2 separate regions of the Homo sapiens genome follow, and region 1 is linked to region 2. The links are contacts of gene promoters, found by promoter capture Hi-C in blood cells and fetal thymus (Javierre and others, 2016). All regions are on one chromosome and are shown on one strand. Each heading gives the region's core, a stretch centred on a gene start or on the middle of the fragment in contact. The rest is flanking DNA. Distances are from core to core; before and after follow the strand shown.

Region 1 (5,907 bases), core at 1,683-4,182, 100 kb before region 2:
CAAGAAACATATGAAAAAATGCTCAACATCACTAAGCACTGGAAATGCAAATCAAACCACAATGAGATATCACCTCACTCCTGCAGAAATGGCCACAATTAAAAAAAAAACAAAAAATATTAGATGTTGGCATGAATGTGGTGAAAAGGAAACACTTCTACACTGCTGGTGGGAATGTAAACTAGTACAACCACTATGGAAAACCTTAAGTATGGAGATTCCTTAAAGAAGTAAAAGTAGAACTACCATTTGATCCAGTAATCCTACTACTGAGTATCTACCCAGAGGAAAAGAAGTCACTATATGAAAAGGACACTTGCACACACATATTTATAGTAGCACAATTTGCAATTGCAAAGTTATGGACCCAGCCTAAATGCCCATCAGCCAAAGAGTGGATAAAGAAAATGTAATATACATATATATAATATGTATACATACACACACACACACACACACACACACCATGGAATACTACTCAGCCATAAGAAGGAACAAAATAATGGCATTCACGACAACCTGGGTGGAGGTGGAGACCATTATTCTAAGGGAAGTAACTCAGGAATGGAAAACCAAACATCATATGTTCTCACTTATAAGGGGGAGCTAAGCTATGAGGATGCAAAGGCATAGGAATGATGTAATGGGCTCTGGGGACTCAGGGGGAAGGGTGGGAGTAGGGTGAGGGATAAAAGACTCTACATTGGGTACAGTGTACACTGCTCAAGTGATGGATGCACCAAAATCTCAGAAATCACCACTGAATAACTTATCCATGTAACCAAACACCACCTACCTGTTCCTCCCAAACTATTGAAATAATATTTTTTAAAAAGGTCACACGAGTCCTATGAATTCGGTGCCACTATTATTCCCATTTTGTAGGTAGGAAGACTGAGGCCTAGAGTCATAGTTAAGTAACATGCCCAAGGTCACAAAGCTGCTAGTAAGAGAGAACTGAGATTTGAACCCAAAAAGTTTAGCACCACAGTCCATGCTTAAACCACAACTATTTGTCCACGGATAATATGACTAATACTAGTCTATTAATATAGAGTACTTCTTCTGTCCCAGGCCCTATGCTAAGGACTCTACATAAATTATCTCATAGATCTTACAAGGTTGGAGCTCTTGGCCCTAAATTATTATGCAGTATCTTATTTGATTCTTTTTTTTTTTTTCGAGACAAGGTCTCTTTCTGTCATTCAGGCTGGAGTGCAGTGGTGCAATCACAGCTCACTGCAACCTCCACCACCTCTTGGGTTCAAGCGATCCTCCCACCTCAGCCTCCCGAGTAGCTGGGACTACAGGCACAAGCCACCACGCCTGCCTAATTTTTGTATTTTTTGTAGAGTCACCATTTCACCATACTGTCCAGGCTGGTCTCGAACTCCTGGGCTATAGCAATCCTTCTGCCTTGGCCTAGGATTAAAGGCATGAGCCATCATGCCCGGCCTTATTTGATTCTTAAAGCAATCCCATGAGTTGGCTATTAGCATGTCCGTTTTACAGATAAAAATACTGAAGCACAGAGAAGTTAAGCAACTTGATGCTCGTGTGGAAGTATCACCTCCCTTTCAGTAACACTTCCTATACACACTGTAGGGATCCATATAATATAAAATAATGCCACAAAATTTACTATACAATTTCTACCTCAAAGCCAAGTTCTCTCAGCTTTTCAAGGCCTCTGTTCTAAAGTGTTAATGGGAAGGAGTAACAATGGCCTTTCCTCTTTTCTCAACTTGGGAGGATTACAGTGACCCTCTCCAACAGTCAGTGGCCCACTTTTGGTTCCCCTTAGTAGGAGAACACACCCACACAAGCTCTGTCACTGGAAGCCTGTTTACAGGGCTTGGATGCTGTATATAAAAGGCATTATTGTGTGAGTTTTTATTTTGTTTTGTTTTGCTTGGAACTGGTTTCTGGAAAAGACAGACTAGCAATCCATTACTGGGGACCACCAGTCTGCTACCTCTGTTTAACTCAGTGGCCAATGACAGTGAAAATAAACAAGTACTCTTACTACCAATCTTGATTAGCAGAGCAAAAAAACGATGACAACAGGGAAGGCACCCGGGGTAGGCTTACTTCCACTTGGAGGGTTGCACATCCTTTCAGGAAGTCATTGATGTTGTTGATGCAGTCAGCTTCAGTTTGGGGATCCAGACAAAACTAGAGGAACACAGTGAAATGTCACTTGGAGATTGTCATCCCATGCCAAGCAAAGTATACTCATCATTTGCTGATAACTAGAGAAAGCAGGCCTCTTAAGGTGTGGGGCAACACTGCTGTCAATCCAGGAAGAGAAATAACCACTGAAGGAAGTGATGCAAAAATCTAAACGGTCGATCTTTGTTTCAAATGTCACCAAACCTTTAGTGGCAAGCCATGTCTACTTACAAGCTTTCTCTCATGCCTTCTGTTCCAGTGTGCTGATGGCAAATTAGGGAGACCAAGACAGTTTTTTGAGCTTAGTTCTTGCTTTCAAGAAAGGAAGCAATCCCTGGTACCTCTCTCTCCTCCTTCCCCCTGATAATTTAATAAAATTCTATTTCCCCTCTACATTTGACCACACTTCTTTACATTTTATCACTATTTAATCACTCTTTCTCAAGTTTAAGAAATTATAAGTAAATTTATTTGCTCAATAAAAATACAAACTGGCTCATGAAGGCAAAAGTGCTATGCTCACAGTCCATGATGACCTTAAGAAAGTAAATGTAAAATTGTACCTTTAAGCTTACTTAAAGTGCCTACTTTAGAAATTATCTATTCTCGTGATCGTGGATTTCCAGCTATTAAAAATCTTGAATTGTTTTAAAGAGAGTAAAGTTAGTTTCACTTTGAACGCACATTGCATTCGAAACATATATCTGGTTTCTATTGCTTTTACAAACTTTATGTGACATTTTGAATTATTTTTTTCCTAGTTGCTATATAGTCTCTCCTTCAATGGATTTTTCTAAAAGGAAATCTACACTGATTTTAATCAAACTGCCAATAAACACCACCAAGATCTGTTATAAATCATTCTATTTTTCCACAGACTCATAAGTACCCCAAGTTCAAAACATGTCCTCGGTACACAAGGAGATGTAACATGCATCTCCATGATAGAGCAAGCTTGTGATATGAGTGTTCTCCTTGTCCCTTGTTGCCAGTGGTGTCACAGGTTTTCCCTATACTACAATTTGGGGGCCAATTACTAAAGAATAACGTTTCATTTTCTTACATTTTCAAACTACAAAAACAGTAAGAAAGAATGTCTAACTCTTAGAAAAATATTAAAGTAGGAGATTCCCATGGCCTGGGAAATAGAAAAATCTCAAGAGTTACATGATTGCTGCTCTCTGGTGATAAGCAATCCCAAAGAGACTGCAAATTTCCCTTACCTTTTCCACAGAGCCAGGCATGAGTCTGTTGATCAGTTTGCACAGAACTACCCCATTTTTCAGCGAGGACTTTAAAAACTCCTCCGGATCACAGATGGTCTTTTTAGGGGACTCTAAAACTCCCAAAGATATAAGCCATGTCACGATTTGTTCTTCTGGATTCATTACTGAGGACGGTACACTCCAAACAGCACTCTGGGGCAGCTGCAAGGACTAAGCCACATCCGCGATTGCATCTGCTGTTGTCTTCCTTTTTATGAGTTCTCTTCGGGTGCTTGCAGAGCAAAGGTTTAAAGCAACTTTTCTTAAACAACAGCGGAACCCACTCAAAATATGGGATTTTAAAACCACAGAGATCACGGTCCAAGATGTGGAAACAGATAAGAATTAATTTAACAATCCTGGATAACGCTGGTTTTTCCTTTTCAAAACCTGCAAAACAAATTCGTTAGGATAAAAAAAAAGAAGAAACGCACATGCACACACGCATACACACACACGCACACAGAGTGCAAGAAGTTATAAGGGAAGAAAGTGAAAAGGATGCTGGGGAGGGAGGAGAGACAAGCAAGCAAGTGCTTTGGGAAACAGAGGTGAGCCAGCACTTCAGGGGACCTTGGAAATGAGACACTCATGGGCCAGTCTGGGAAAACACTGTCAATAAATAGTCTAGCCCCAGTGAAAATCTGGCTTCTGTTAGGAGGACGATGCCAACTGGCTCTTAGGTCAGACAGATCTGAGCCTCATGGGGAGATGTGCTGGCACAACAGGGCTCAAAGAAGGTAGACAGAAAATTCTTCCAAGAAATAGCCGGATGTCCTCATAGTATCTCCCAGAGATGGTGTGTCACGATCATTCCTTGCAAAACACGTTGAGTTGCATGGTGACAACGTGCCAAGCAAACGAAGATTATGCCTGCTGTCAGCCATCACTGTGTATAAGCAGAAGCTAGAAGAATGGCATTTTACTTTGCAGCCAAAAAGCTATGTTTAGGGAAATAGGCTAAGGATAACATCTGACATCCTGTTTACTTGCATTCTTTAGCAATTCTTTTTCTGGACCTGGTTCCACTACATAATCCAGCTGCAGTACCCTTAGCAAAGGCTCAGACTCAGTCACATAAGTGGGTAAAATACACTTGAAAAAATAGAATGTTTGAGAACAAAAGAGCACTTGTCCTCTGTCTACACTACAATATGGAAGATTCTTATTTTCCCAACAACAACAACAACAAAAAAACACTTTGCACTTAAAATACTGCTCTGAAAAAAAAACTGTCTATAACAAGAGATCTTCATCATTCTCAAACATTTTCAGAACCACTTGAAATAGGCATACTATTGGGAAATTTATGATAAGGCCAACTTTAATAGTATAACCCTATGTTGGCAAATGTGTGGCACTTACCATGATTACCTCTCCTCGTGCATGGGAGACATCAGATCATGTATAGCTCTTTCCTACTAAGCCTCAGAATTCTTTTCAACACAGCTTCAGGCATCTACTACCAAAGAATCAGCTTAGATAACCCTACTAAACATTTTCAAAGCTGCCCTTTCTTGCTCTGTCAGGACACTTGTCACACTTTACTATTATCACTTGTTGATCTGATGATCTGACTCCTCCACAAGAATGTAAACTTCCTAAACTCGGGGTCTTGTTTTTTTTTATTTAACACTGTGTTACCAGCAGACTGCCAGGTATACACAGTAGATGTTAAAAAATGCTGAATGAATAAATGAATGTATTCAGATGGTGTCCCTGATATAGACAGTAACTGATTATAGCAAGGATTTTTTGTTTGTTGGTTGGTTTAAATGGCTTAAAACAAACATTTTTTCTTGTTAATGATTTTTACCATTTTATTAAGCTGTAATTGACACATAAGGAACTGCATATATATGATTTAATGAATTTTGACATATACATACATCTTTGATACAATCACACAAATGCAATCCAGATAAGCCTTTCCATCACCCCCAAAATTGTCCTCGTGCCCTTTCAATTCTTTCTTTCCTCTTTGCCTCCAAATGCCAGGCAACCACCAATCTATTTTCAGTGTCTATAGATTAGTTTGCATTTTCAAGAATCTTATATAAATGGAAGTACACAGTATGGTACTATCTTTTTTCTGGCTTCTTAACTCAACATCATCATTTTCATACTCATTCATGTTATTGTGTCTGTCCATAGTTCTATAACAAGGTTTGCTTGATGTACTTGTGACTTAAGCAAAATAAGTATAATCAATCAAAAGTTTTCATTGACGTTGACCCATGGCCAAATCTATGTAATGGAAATAAAAACAGAATACATTTGTTGATAAATAAAATTCCCAAATCTGACGAACTTAAACACATTTTTATATGTCATCTGAACAGTTTTCACAACTGCTCATCAAAATTTTACTCTACAGACAAACAAAATCTGGCAGTATTATTGAGGTATCACTTACATCTTCTGATGAAGAACAAAGCCTGAGTAAGTTTTGTGAACCCAGCCTCCTCCA
Region 2 (6,784 bases), core at 3,141-5,640:
GATGGTCTTGATCTCTTGACACCGTGATCCGTCTGCCGCGGCCTCCCAAAGTGCTAGGATTACGGGCGTGAGCCACCACGCCTGGCCAATTAAAATTTTAAGCATCATTCACCTCTCAATTCTTTGTGTTACGGTAGTAGCATAAATCATCATACATGGAACATTTACCTCTTCCTCCCATTCCACTGCTACTGCGAACTGGTCCTGAAGGTGCAGATCTCTTAGGAGGAGGACCCCCACTTCTTGGTGGTGGTCCTCTTTTTACTGGGAGTGGTCCCCTGGAAGAACTCATGTTAAAATTCATGGAATATCCACCGTCATCTGCATCAAAAATAGAAAAGAAAAATATTACTACTCACAAGAATCAAGAAAGATATAAAAGTTTTTTTTTTTTTTTGAGAGTCTCACTGTCGCCCAGGCTGGAGTGCAGTGGCTTCATCTCGGCTCACTGCAACCTCTGCCTCCTGGGTTCAAGCAATTCTCCTGCCTCAGCCTCCCGAGTAGCTGGGATTACAGGTGTGCGCCACCACACCCAGCTAATTTTTGGTGGTTTTTTTTAAGTAGAGACAGGATTTCACCATGCTGGCCAGGCTGGTCTCGAACTCCTGACCTTGTGATCCGCCTGCCTCAGCCTCCCAAAGTGCTGGGATTGCAGGTGTGAGCCACCAGGCTCGGCCACTATAAAAGTTTTCTTTGCTTCATCAAGAATATGACCATTATTGGGCCGGGCACAATGGCTCACGCCTGTAATCCCAGCACTTTGGGAGGCCAAGGCGGGCGGATCACCTGAGGTCAGGAGTTCAAGACCAGTCTAACACGGTAAAATCCTGTCTCTACTAAAAATACAAAAATCCAGGTGTGGTGGTGCATGCCCGTAATCCCAGCTACTTGGGAGGCTGAGGCAGGACAATCGCCTGAACCTGGAAGGCAGAGGTTGTGGTGAGCCAAGATCGTGCCACTGCACTTCAGCCTGGGCAACAAGTGCTAAACTCTACCCCCCCCCCCCCAAAAAAAAACCATTATTGATTTGGGTAGTCTAGTTTCACTTGTACTTGATGGAGCATGCACTGCAGTCATAGAAACTGGGGAAATAAGAACTGAAGGTAGTCTTAAAAAACTTTTTTTTTTTTTTTTTGAGAGGGAGTCTCGCTGTTCCCCCAGGCTGGAGTACAGTGGCACGATCTCAACTCACTGCAACCTCTGCCTCCCAAGTTCAAGTGATTCTTCTGCCTCAGCCTCCGTAGTAGCTGGGATTACAGGCACCTGCCACCACGCCCAGCTAACTTTAAAAAATAAAAATGATTTCATTTTCATGTCCAACACCCTGGCCTATCAATTTTTAAATGCCTTTCCTACAGAGTGAACTACTTGGACAAGAAGTAACACTGTCCACGGTTTAACACCATAATCTAAAACATGCTTCCCATGCTTTCAATTGGCAATCACTTTGGTAGATGAACAAGTGTTGTCAATTTCAAAAGTTGGCACCTTTCCTCAAGGACTTAACCAAAGCATCCACTTGGTGTGAGCTTGCAGTCCCTAACTTATACACCAAACCCGAGGTCCACGCAAGTTATTACCCATGTGTCCTCCCCGTGAGGGAGGTCCCCTGGTTCCTCCACTTCCTCCTCTTCCACCTCTAAGACCTCTTGGAGGGCCTCTACTTCTTGGAGGTGGAGGCGGTCCACGTCTACCACTTTCAAATGATGGTTTGGTGGCTTGTTCCACCTTGATGGCTTTTCCATCTAATGACTAAAAAAAAAGATACGATTAAATTAAATCAAGATTTAAAAATAATTTGCACATCTACTATGCACTAAGACACTAACTGGTCCTTCAAAATGCAGTTATGGGTAAGTGTTGCTCATTAGTCTAAGAAAAAACACTGCAAATATAGTCAGTTTACATAAATGGGGCTTTTCCGCTTAAAATTCTTAATACTTAAAACCGATACTGATGATCTGGATTGAAACATAAGGTGAACCCACTGCATTATTGTATGGTAAAATTTAAAACAAGGCCAAGTAGGTATCAGCTTGTTATCAAAACTAGTAGCCAAAACCAAAAGCCAAGTTATCAAAATATGGCTTATGGATCTCAAGATAAAATGTATCATGTTGGCTGGGCGCAGTGGCTCGCAGTGTCTCACACCTGTAATCCCAGTACTTTGGGAGGCGGAGGCAGCTGGATCACCTGAAGTCAGGAGTTTGAGACCAGCCTGGCCAACATGGTGAAACCCTGTCTCTACTAAAAATACAAAGTTAGCCGGGCGTGGTCGCGCATGCCTGTAATCCCAGCTACTGGGGGGGGGGGGGGGGGCTGAGGCAGAAAAATCGCTTAGAACTCGGGAGACAGGCTGCAGTGGGCACTGCACCATTGCACTCCAGGCTAGGCAACGGAGGGAGACTATCAAAAAAAAAAAAAAAAAAGTACCATGTAATGCCATAATTATTCTGAACTGAGAGAATGTTACGAGCATAAGATATAACTCACTACTAGATTTGGTTCTGCAATTACAGAATACTCTTTGGAACAGGATCACAAACAGGATGAGTGGATCCCAGACAGGTATATACTGAAAAACAACGAAAACTCAAAAGCTGTCCTAGACCAGACTTGGACAACTACATGTTATTTTATGCACTAGTAACAGGTTATCATCCATCGTGTAGACAATCTCACCTTTCCATTCATGTCTCTGGCTGCATCCTTAGCGTCTGCTGGGCTTTCAAAGGTGACAAAAGCAAATCCTCTTGATTTGTTGGTTTCACGGTCTTTCATCAAGAGTACTAAAAAGTAGTTTTCAGAAAAATAAAGTGTTACCCTAGGTCAAATGAAATAACCAAAGTAAATGTGTAAACAGAAAGCTCAGAACTTCTTAGAGGACAAAAATACATTATCATGTCAGACGATCAATGCAATCAAATTCATCATAGCTTATATTTTAATTATAATAGCCCAGCCTGTACTGCCAGACAACTCACCTTCCACTATTCGTCCATATTTGCCAAATACTGCTTCAAGAGCTTTCTCATTTGTTTCCGTATTAAGCCCACCAATGAAGAGCTTTCCTGGGCGATCTGCTTCAACCATGTTTTTTTTTTTTTGGGCCGGTGAGTCTGTTGAAAAGGAATAGTATTACCTCACTGCAAAAAGTTCCTCAAGTTTATTGGACACTTTTACTTTCGCACATTTCTCATATTTTCCACTAAAACCATTGTTCCTTAATAACTAAAGAAAACGATAACGAGCTAAGCCTCAGCCACAGTAGGAAGCAATTTGAACTAAGTAGTTTAGTAACACTGCAATTTACATAAAACTGGTTAAAAGGGCCAACTTAACTTTTACCACTACCCTTGATCACCCTTAGCTGTTCTTAAGCAACAGCTGCTTAACATTTGAAAAAGCAACTTTTAGTTCCAGTCCTCTTGCCTTTGAAAGATTCAATTACTCATCACACCCTTCCTAACGATGGTTTTAAAAGACTCCCAAGGTCACAGGCTAGACACAGGACCTTAACACCAAGCCCTCTTCCAACGACTCCTCTTTTCCTCATTAGGATTCCCTACTAAATCCAAGGAGAAATGTGAAGTTTAAGCCAAGTTATGCCGCCCCTCTTCTTCACCGGCCCCCGCCCTACCGAAAATTCTACTATCCGGCCAAAAAGATAAAAACAAATCGTCAACATCGTTTGCTATTAAGTAACGGAACGCGGACGCACACACTAACACTCGACACTCCGTGACTGCAGCGGAACCTAATTAAAACTCGTCATTAAAAACCGCGTGTAAAAGACAAAATGGCGACACTTGGATTCAACCCAGAACCACCGACACTGGTCAGGGGACTAACTTTTACCACCAACATTGGCTGGGAACATTCAGAGGGCTTCTTCTCCGGGGCCGCCAATGAATACGAAGCCCGCAGCCCGCATGGAAGTCCACATGCCCATCATTAGCGCCAGCGCCATACCAATGCAGGTATCGCCGTGGTGCGGTCGCTCCTCGCCCCGCTCCAGCCTACAAAGCCCCGACCTCCGCTACCAACTCCCGCAGATGGCAGCCAAACTTTCTCGAGAAGCATACAACCAAACGGGCCCCCTCATTTGTTTTCCCTCGACCCCCTCAGCTTTATTTAAATAGGTCGGAACCTTTGGGTTCTTAAAATGGCGCCCGCCACCCCCATCTCCAGGGAGATATAATCCCCAGTCCTAACACGGGGAGAGTGTCACGAAAAACGGACTGAGGAAAGGAGACACGTACCGGAGGGGTGACAATGGGTTCAAGCTCCAACGAGCTCGGCGATAGGGGCTTCCTAGCAGCTCAGCACCAGTGGCGGCTGCCGGGTGCGAGGACCGAACCGCGAAGCCGCTAGCACTACTGCGCAACGAGGGCGAACAAAGGAGACAGCAAACTTTATACTGCCCGGGAACGAGGCTGAAGGACCCGGATGGAAACGGAGCTTAGAATTTGAAACGCAAAGGGAGGGGGGAAGTAGTTCCCAGTCTCCCCATTGGCTGGCTCCTCTGTCATTCACCCTTCTCTCCTCCCTTTTTCCCGGGCCCTCGGTGTTGGGTCGACAGACCTTTCTAACCGTTTTCTCTACCCCCACCCGTTCTTTACAAACGCGCTTTTTTTGCTTTACGCTAAAATGGTGCACAGGCTTCCTTTAATAAAGAACTGAAGTTTATTGAGCGTCCTAGTGGGCCGGGCACGGTGCAAAACTTTACTTTTACTTTTCCATTAACTCTTCTAATTGTCAAAATGTGATGAGGGTAGATACTCCTACTATACCAATTTTGCAGAAACGGAAAACAAAGAAGTTTTGGCAATATAATATATTTTCAAAAATTGTCTTTAACAAGTGTTTTTAGTGAGTGTGGGAATTTCTGATAAATACATGTAAATTTCAGATGAGTAAAAAACGTACAAAACAGCATGCAGATAGTACATTCATATAGAACAATTACTGAGCACCTTGTAAATGGTGGGCTCTGGGCTAGGCCAGGAAAATACAACTCCAGGGAAAAGACAAGAGTCAGGCCTGTGGGTAAGGATGCCGGATTTAATAAATGAAAATACCAGGCCGGGTGCAGTGGCTCACGCCTGTAATCCCAGCACTTTGGGAGGCCAAGGTCGGTGGATCACGAAGTCAGGAGATGGAGACCATCCTGGCTAACACGGTGAAACCCCGTCTCTTTTTAAAAATACAAAAAATTACCCAGGCGTGGTGGCACGCGCCTGTAGTCCCAGCTACTCGGGAGGCTGAGGCAGGAGAATCCGGGAGGCGGAGGTTGCAGTGAGCCAAGACTGCGCCACCGCACTCCAGCCTGGGCAGGCGACAGAGCGAGACTCCGTCTCAAAATAAAAAAGAAAATGCGGGACGCTAATTTATTCTGCGAAGCTGTTAAAAAATTTTAAATAAAAATATGGGACGCGGCCGGGGCGCGGTGGCTCATGCCTGTAATCCTAGCACTTTGGGAGGCCGAGGCGGGCAGATTGCCTGAGCTCAGGGGTTTGAGACCAGCCTGGGCAACATGGTGAAACCCCGTCTCTACTAAAATAAAAATAAAAAATAAAAAAATTAGCCGGGCGTGGCGGCGTGTGCCTGTAGTCCCAGCTACTCGGGAGGCTGAGGCAGGAGAATTGCTTGAACCCAGGAGGCGGCGGTTGCAGTGAGCCAAGATCATACCACTGCACTCCAGCCTGGCAACAGAGCGAGACTTCGTCTAAAAAAAAAAAAAGGGACGCCCAGTTAAGTTTAAATTTCAGATAACGAATACTTTTTTTAGTATAGTATGTCCCAAATCTCATATTTTAAAAATTCGCTGTTTATCGGAAATTCAAATTTAACTGAGCATTCTATATTTCATCTGCCCATCCTACTTGTTGAGGGGGGAAACCAAAAAATTTTTTAATTTTTTTCTTAAAGAAATTGAATACAATTAACAAAAGAATGGCATGTTGTGATTAATGCCAGGGAGGAAATAAACTAGTTGCTTTGATGGACAATATTAGGGAGAACAAATTTGATTAAAACATCAGGGAAGGTCTATGTGAAGAGGTGACTTTGGAGATCAGAGCTGAAGGAAGAAAAGAAACTAGCTATGGGAACAGCTGAGGGAAAAACCTTCAGGAAAAGAAGAGAATAGTAAACACAAAGTAGAGAGGAAGAGCTTGGCATATATCAAGGGACAGAAAGAGGGCCAGGTGACAAGAATATGAGGGGCATGAAATGAGGGAGCCAAGATTGGCAGGACCTTTGAGCCCATTAAATGACTGTAGGGGGTAAGTGTGGGAAAAAGGACACTAATAGGGCTGTGGGAGCAGACCAGAAAGAGAGGATGGTGGCTTGAATCAGGGTGGCGGCAGTGGACACGGGGAGGAAAGAACAATTGTTAGATGAATATGATAGGTATCGTGTTTAATGGTGCTATGGTCTAAATGTTTGTGTCCTCCCCCAAATTCATATGTTGAAATCCTAATACCCAAGGTGATGGCATTAGGAGGCGGGGATTTGGGGAGAAGATTAGGTCACAAAAGGGTAGGGTCCTCATGAATGGGATTAACACTTTTATAAAAGAGGCCCCTGTCCACCATGTGAGAACACAGTGAGGTGCCACTTATATGAACCAGAAAACTGGTGGTGGTGGGCCCTCACCAGACACTGAATATGCTGGCGTCTTTATCTTGGACTTCCCAGCCTACAAAAATGTGAGAAATAAATTTCTGTTGTTTATAAGCCAGCCAGTTTATGGTATTTTGTTATAGTAGCAGGAATGGAC

Evidence for each region. Contacts are between HindIII fragments. The CHiCAGO score rates a contact against its expected background, and 5 or more counts as called.
Region 1: a contact is called between a fragment that was not itself captured here and the fragment with the promoter of RBMX in region 2, in 7 of 17 cell types (fetal thymus, total B cells, naive CD8 T cells and 4 more). The highest score is 9.1, in fetal thymus.

What each region holds. Positions count from the first base shown.
Region 1 is chrX:136,777,323-136,783,229 of GRCh38, forward strand. It overlaps ARHGEF6 (Rac/Cdc42 guanine nucleotide exchange factor 6), which reads right to left and starts at 3,610. Exons shown (of 22, transcript NM_004840.3): 1 at 3,396-3,610; 2 at 2,092-2,175. The coding sequence starts at 3,560. RefSeq lists an enhancer at 2,046-2,265. The HindIII fragment of the contact is 384 bases long and covers 2,741-3,124 here.
Region 2 is chrX:136,876,335-136,883,118 of GRCh38, forward strand. It overlaps RBMX (RNA binding motif protein X-linked), which reads right to left and starts at 4,391. Exons shown (of 9, transcript NM_002139.4): 1 at 4,263-4,391; 2 at 2,985-3,119; 3 at 2,683-2,789; 4 at 1,581-1,752; 5 at 169-321. The coding sequence starts at 3,093. SNORD61 (small nucleolar RNA, C/D box 61) reads right to left here and starts at 2,937; the gene lies at 2,865-2,937. RefSeq lists enhancers at 3,316-3,915, 3,717-3,776, 3,787-4,246, 3,916-4,514. The HindIII fragment of the contact is 13,799 bases long and covers 1-6,784 here.